Linked DNA regions of Homo sapiens: region 1 is linked to region 2. Evidence: promoter capture Hi-C in 16 types of primary human blood cells and fetal thymus (Javierre and others, 2016). All regions are on one chromosome and are shown on one strand. Each heading gives the region's core, a stretch centred on a gene start or on the middle of the fragment in contact. The rest is flanking DNA. Distances are from core to core; before and after follow the strand shown. Region 1 has its middle 2.2 kb from the start of FUT4. Region 2 holds the start of SMCO4 (single-pass membrane protein with coiled-coil domains 4).

Evidence for each region. Contacts are between HindIII fragments. The CHiCAGO score rates a contact against its expected background, and 5 or more counts as called.
Region 1: a fragment that was not itself captured here is called in contact with the fragment with the promoter of SMCO4 in region 2 in 2 of 17 cell types (monocytes and M0 macrophages); the score reaches 5.9 in monocytes.

What each region holds. Positions count from the first base shown.
Region 1 is chr11:94,539,993-94,543,538 of GRCh38, reverse strand. No RefSeq gene overlaps it. Among named protein-coding and RNA genes, the nearest start is that of FUT4, 2.2 kb to the left of the region's middle. The HindIII fragment of the contact is 1,891 bases long and covers 936-2,826 here.
Region 2 is chr11:93,541,477-93,545,016 of GRCh38, reverse strand. It overlaps SMCO4 (single-pass membrane protein with coiled-coil domains 4), which reads left to right and starts at 1,626. Exons shown (of 3, transcript NM_020179.3): 1 at 1,626-1,741. RefSeq lists silencers at 1,426-1,555, 1,716-1,765, 1,896-2,135. The HindIII fragment of the contact is 4,665 bases long and covers 1-3,443 here.

The DNA.
Region 1 (3,546 bases), core at 632-3,131, 1.0 Mb before region 2:
GTACCAAGACGCACAGGACTCATAAACCAAAGATGAAGATGTGACCCCCCCAAGGCCCTTGTCGTCAAGGAATTTATTGCCTGTTCAGTGAGATGAATGAATGAATATCACTATTAATTTTACCAAGCACTTAAAAAACATTTTCTGCACCCATGAAAGTTATGCAAAATAGTTTGGATGATAAAATGATGACGAAGATAAATATTCTAGCACCCAAGTTAAGGGTGTAAAGACAGTATCGCACTGGCCTCTTCTACCTTATTAGGCGACACTGGAGACATCTACGTCTACAGTCACTTGAGAAATTTTTTACCTACGGGTTGAATTTGAATTTCTGGGTGTTCGCTTTGGTTTATGATATTCAACTTTTATTCAGGGGATTTCCAAATAGATCAGGGGCGGGGCTGCTGACCTAAGGAGAGGAGAAAGTTTTGAGAGAAGTTTTAGTAGATCACAGCTGTGCATCAGTGGAGTCCCACTGATACTAGGGGAGAAATAGACAGTGCTGGGAATGGGGCAATCCTGCCAGGTGTTTTTGATGTTATGCCTACAGAAAATAAATTTGCGTTAGCCATATGAATTTAAGAATGTTTTCATTAAAAATCAAGTATAGGCCAGGCGCGGTGGCTCACGCCTATACTCCCAGCACTTTGGGAGGCCGAGGCGGGCGGATCCCGAGGTCAGGAGATCGAGACCATCCTGGCTAACACGGTGAAACTCTGTCTCCACTAAAAATAAAAAAAAATTAGCCAGGCTTGGTGGCGGGCGCCTGTAGTCCCAGCTACTCGGGAAGCTGAGGCAGGAGAATGGCGTCAACCCAGGAGGCGGAGCTTGCAGTGAGCCCAGATCGCGCCACTGCACTCCAGCCTGGGCGACAAAGCGAGACTCCGTCTCGGAAAAAAAAAAAAAAAAATCAAGCATTGTGTGTAAAAGCTTCTATAAAAGTGGCTTCCGGGTGGCGCTCTCTGCAGGGCCACAGCCTCAGTTTGGAGACTAGATGGAGGATGTTAGGTGTTCTGGCTAGGCCCATCAACCTAGTAACATTTCCTCCTGCACAGTAAAACCTTTCATAATGCTTCTGGGGTTTTTTGTTTGTTTGAAAAACAGAAATTAGAAATCAAATATTTTATTTGAAATTAGACATTTCAGTGACTTTTTTCCACTCTTACTTTTAATTAAAAGAAAAAGCTATAAATGCACAAATTACTTGTTTAAACGAAATAAAGGAAAAAGTGTATTGGCTTCTCTTTTTATGCAATTCAAGAATCCAGCCATTTATTCACATTCTTCTCCCTCTTCAGTTAAATAAGACATCACAGATAGAGCCTAACATTGTGTCTGGCACGTGGCCGGTAGGCATTTGGGAAATATTACCCTGCTTGATTGCTTCCTTCCACCACTCCCGATTTTCTCTTAAGCCTCCGAATGTTCCAATTAAGCCATCTTTTTACCTGAAGAATGCCCGAGGTCTCATGCATATCAATTTTCTTTGTGCCCTCTTACCTCGGTAGGGTTGAGACCACAAACTGCCCCTACTATACCCTTATTTGATGTGGGAGGAGGGGATACTAGGTAGTAAGGTGTGTCTGGATGAATGGAAACCAGTCGTGACTTCGCAAATTGCTGGTTGAAGGTCATACGTGATCATTGTGCATCTCATACATGCACAAACATTCACAGGGGACTGGATTGTTCTTATTTTAAAAGAGCCATTGGTAGGGTAGAGGAGAAGGAAAGGGAGGAAAGGAGTTATGGGAAATTAATAAATTTACTCACTTGTTCATTTAACAAATTGGGAAACAAATGCAAAACACGGTTTCTACCTTCAAAAATCTACGAGAGAAACAGATAGTGGGGAGGGAAGGGATCATGGAAGGCTTTGAGGAGGTGGCTCCTGGAATAATTAGGAATCATTACAATGCAGAGGAAGAGGGCTGAGGTGTTAGTTGCCACAGAGGGAGCAGCACTGCAGAGGCCAGGGAGGGAAGACTGGGGCAGTAGGCGAGGAATTACTAGGGTATAGTTTGGCGAAGGAGATGGTGTTTATCCTGCAGGCTGTCGAGAAAGTCCTTGGAAGGCTTTAACAAAGGAAGGAAGCGATATTCATTTTTAAAATGAATTCTTATTTTTATTACGTATAAGGAGGGTGAGTATATGGATGGGGACACGGGGGGGCTGCGGAATGCTGACTGTTAATGTAGGCTCTGGTTAATGGGTGTGTTTGGTTATGGAAGTTCATCAAACTGTATGCTTACATATGTACTTTTATGGGTGGACATTATACTTTAGAAAAAAGTTTCTAAGAAAAAATCATTCTGTCATTAGTAAAGAGTGAGTTGGGTAAAAATAGGGTAAGAGTAGGGGTGTGGTGGTGTGCAGTTGGAAAGTTATTGCTGTAATTCAGATGTGAAATAAAGAGGGCCTGAACTGAGACAGTAGCTGTGAGGATGAGGAAGAAAATTAAAGGAGGATAGATTCAGAGAGATTTAGGAGGCTGGTTTCTTTCTCTGGGAAGCCTTTCTGGATACCCACAAACATATATCCAGGGTAGTTTACATGGCCCTCCTGTGCACTCTCACACATGCTGCACCTTTCAGAACATCATGGGACATCCAGAGATCATGACTGTTTCATTCATAATTCCATCCTGAACACCCACCACGGAACCAGGTTTCTAGTAGTGAATATTTGTTGAATGAATGTATGCCCTTAATGTATCACCGAAATTATCTGTTGGTATCTCTTTCCCCACTACAAAATGAGAAGACATCCGGAGATCTTGGCTATGTGAATGACTTGCTATGACCTTGAAATGTCCCTTAAGCTTTCAGTGGAAAATATTGTACATGTATTAAGCATAGTCCTGGCAACAGGCATCAGAAATGATATCAAATTAGACTGCTGTCATTGGCCAAACCTGGGATGAGTGCTCATTCTTGAAGCAATCACTGTGGTCAGGGAATGGGTACTCTCTTTAGACCCTCCTCTGGAGCTAGAATCAGTCCCATCTGAATAACAGATGTGGAATAATCTGTTATTCTTGAATAACAGTGCGGGGAGAGAAGTTACCCAAAAGAAAAAATGAGGTGGTGTTACCTGAAAAAGAGGGAAAGGATGCTAGGTGGGCAAAAACATGTCTGCTACCCATGTGGAAGGAGATATTACTATTCTTACAATGAAGAGGCTGGACTAAATGAACTCTGAATCATCTTAGATTTCGAACATGGAAGAATAGTCCATGATTCTTTTACATTTGGTAACAAATGATTCTTTGTGCATTTAAAGGCCTCTCAGTTTCCACAAAATATTGCACAGAAAGAACTAGCTTTCAGTTGCCAGCATGAAGATGAGATGGGCATGGAGAAGGGTCTTTGGACCCTGAGGGTTGCAAAAGTAGTGTAGAAGAGAGCTCCATAATTCAAGACTTAATTTATGACACTGAATGAGCAATGAACTCACAACATGCCAAAAGTGACCTATTCGGTTCCAAAATTTTATATTGGACAGAATTCTTTGGGAGCAAGAACCAGGCCAACTGTGGTTCCT
Region 2 (3,540 bases), core at 377-2,876:
CCCTCTGCCCTAGTGTGGAGCTACAGCTCAAACTCCTTTGAAGGTAGGAAACTTACCTCACACACGCGTGTTCCCCTCATTCTTTCAGCGCATAGAACACTAAAAAGATGCTCCTTAAATACATGCTAAATAAACTGATCAATAGTTGCCTTTTATTAAATATCTTTGTGTTTCAGGTATTTCCTTATTTCCTTCACAGACCGGATCATGAATGATCTCCCAATGTGACAAGGTCTTATTCTCCACAGTTTACCGTTGAGGGGACTGAGGTGCAGAAAGCCCAAGGTGTATGCAGCCCAATCCCCTCTGATCCCACTCTACTGCATTGCTGCCTTTTGTACGCAGCAGGAAGGACACTTCCTGTAAAAATGAAAAAAAAAGCCTTAAGTTGTTTGAGAGAGGGTCAGGAAGAAAACAGGAAGAGCCAGTAGACTGCAGGTGCTTTCAAAGGGCTCCCTGTCTTTGACATCCCTAAAATAAAAACTTGTTAATTAAGAGATTGGCCACAGAAATCCAGGTGGAAAACCTGCAGAAGAGTGGGTTCCACAATTCTTCAAAACAGAACAAAAAAACCCCAAGACTTGTTATATTTTTACCGGTGGAGGGGAAGAGGTTACAGGAGTGGCCTTGCTCCCCGGGCTGGCCTTGCTGAGCAGGTGACAATACCACACATATAAAGGTTTTAAGGTGAAAAGGTAGTCAATATTTTACATTTCGAAGATAGTTTTTAAAATCACCTACTGCATCAGTAGTAATACAACAATAACTACCATTTACATACCACCGCACACATCGGGGCTGCGTAAAGAACTTTATAGTGCACCATCTCAATTAATTCTCACAACTCTGTGAAGTAGGTTTTATTATTCTTAATTTATAGACGTGTTCACTGTGGGCCAGGGAGATGAGCTTTCCCGCGATTGCCCAGCTTTTAAGAGGTAGATCTCAAACCTAAACGTGTTTGACCAAAAGCCCTGAATAACATTTAGCCGTGGGCCTCTTGCGGATTTGGCGCTGGTCCGAGGTGGGGAATTGTGAATCTCATTTATTTATGCTGAGCTGCGCACACATATGCACGTGTAAGTTACAAAAAACAAATCCAGGTCAGGATCTCTGTCCGCTTGAGGTTTCAAAGCCTACTTGGGTAGACAGCGGTAAAAGTCTCAACTCATTCATCTACTCGTTTGCTCTCTTCACAAGTATTTATTGCGCACTTCAGTATTCCAGACAGGGCGCTAACCTTGCCCTGGAGGAGAGAATGGTGAACACAACAGACATGGCGTTTGCCTCCAACTATCCCCTTTCCGATTCTGCTATCTCACGGGCGAGGCGTTCAAAGAAGCAGGAAATATATCAACAAGGGGGTGACTTAAGCACCCGCTGCGCGGGAGCCGGAGGAAGCGCGCTGAGCCTGCAGAGGTGGTCAGGGCGAACTTCCTGGAGGCAGCGGCAGCAGCAGGCCGGGCGAGAACCCAGGTCGCTCGGAAGCGACAGTCTGAGCCGGGAACGGGGAAGAGGGGGCGGGAGCCGAGGCCCGGGCGGGGGCAGCCAGCGAGTTAGGGTTAGGACGGGAGGATTCGGCTTCCCGGCGGCAGAGGGCGCCTGGCGCTGCGGTCTGGCGCGCCAGAGTCGCCCGCGCGGGCGCCGAGAGGAGAGGCGAGGCGGGGAGCGCAAGCGGCGGCGGCCACTGCCACGTATTCCCGGCAGTGGTGGCGGCGGCGGCGGCGGCGCCCGCGGGCAGGTGGGCTGGGAGCGGCGCGGCGGCGGCGGCGGCGGGGCGGGCGAGCCGGCGGGCGGGCGCGGGGCACGGGGCACCGGGCACCGGGCGGGGGTGCGGCGCCGGGACAGTACGGTTCCCGCCACGCCGGCTCCGCCTCCGCGCAGTGCTGCTGACCCAGGCCTGGGCGCCCGGCGGGTCCCGAGCGCAACTCGTGCGGGCGGGGTTGGGGGCCCGAGGGACTCGAGCTCGCCTGCCCGTCGCGGCTCGAGACGCTGCATCCCGGTTGCTGCGGGGCGGGGGCTGGGAAAAGTTGGGGCGGACCGCGAGCCCGCGGGGCCGGGCGGGAAGTGCGGGTGCGGGGCGGACTCAGGGGCCGGGGGACGCAGTGCAAAGGGCTTGGGCCGGGGCGGCCGGGAGGGCCCCGTATGGGAAGGTGGGAAACGCGGGTCCTTTGAGGACGCCGAGAAAGGGGTGCGCTCAGGGTCTCTGGGAGTGGACAAGAGTCCGGCGGCGGACCTTGCGGGTGAGAAGGGTCGGCGCCTGGGGGTCGGGGAGTAGAGGTGAGGCGGGGGCGGGATAGAGCCTTCCTCCTCCCCCGTTCTTTCGGGACCGACCCTGAGACCCGGGGCAGGCTCCGAGCTGGGTACGCCTCTGGCATCTGAAGACCCAGTGGGGAGTTCCTGTACGGGGTGGGTGGAGGAGGGAGCTGAGCGTTGCTTCCTCTGCTGCTGGGGCCGACTACCGCCCCTCCCCAGCGGCCAGATTCACCTCAGACTGCAGTGCTTTTGCCCTGAGGAAGTTGAGGAGGGACAGCTGAGCGGATGAGATGTTTGGGGTGTTCCAAGATGAGTGGGATTAGGCTGCATGATATCATAACTATCTCCGGGAGCTGTCAGAAAACACTCCCATGTCCTCATACACCCACCCATCCACTCATCCAGTCAGTACTGCCAAGCTCCAGGCTCCCTTGCTCTTTAAGTGACACCTCTAGATCCCCAGAGCCCAACAGCGCATCTGCTCACAGCCTCGAGGGTGGCAAGGGTGGAAGACATGGCCTGCTAGTGTCTGCGTAGGTTGGTGCTTTCAGAAACAAGTGGTTCTGGAGGTGCTGGATGCTTTATTAGAACAACCTGTGTGGAGCCCGTTGACAATGCAGATGACTCATGTTGGCTTTTTTTTTTTCCCCTTTACAAATAAACTTTGTATTCAAGACACCAGTATGCCTGGTCATTTGCAGCAGTGATACGGCAAGAGACCCATAGTGGGCTTCTTGAGCCCTTATTCTCGTCCTAGATGTGTTAGCAAGAAGTTTGACCTTGGATGAGTCACTTGCTCTCTCTGGACTTCTGTTTTCTTATCTGTCACATGGGGTATAAAGAGAGAGCTCGACAGTGTGATGTAGACAGGAGTAGGTTTCTGAGGGACACAGTGAAATCTTTTTTCTTGTAAGGCTGGATCAGCCACAGAAAATAAGCCTTAGCCTGTTCTTATAAAGAAATTAGCTTAGATTTAAAATAAAATATGAGAAGAAATATTGCAAAAAGCAAAACAACAAAAAACTAATAGTAGTTGGTACTCGATTTACAACATGAATACTGTTCTTATGCTTGCAGTTAGTGTACTTGGTTGTCCAGCTATCTACTATAAAGTTGCTCATTGTGCTTAGAAAGTGTGTATTTCACCTGTGGACCCGAATTTTTTCTTATTGTTTAATCTTCAAGCTTGGAGTGGACGCTCAAGCTTGGAGTTGGATTGGTCCTGCTGGGGTTTGTCTGAAGAACATCCTCAGGGTCTCTCATTGCATAATATTATAGGTTTCC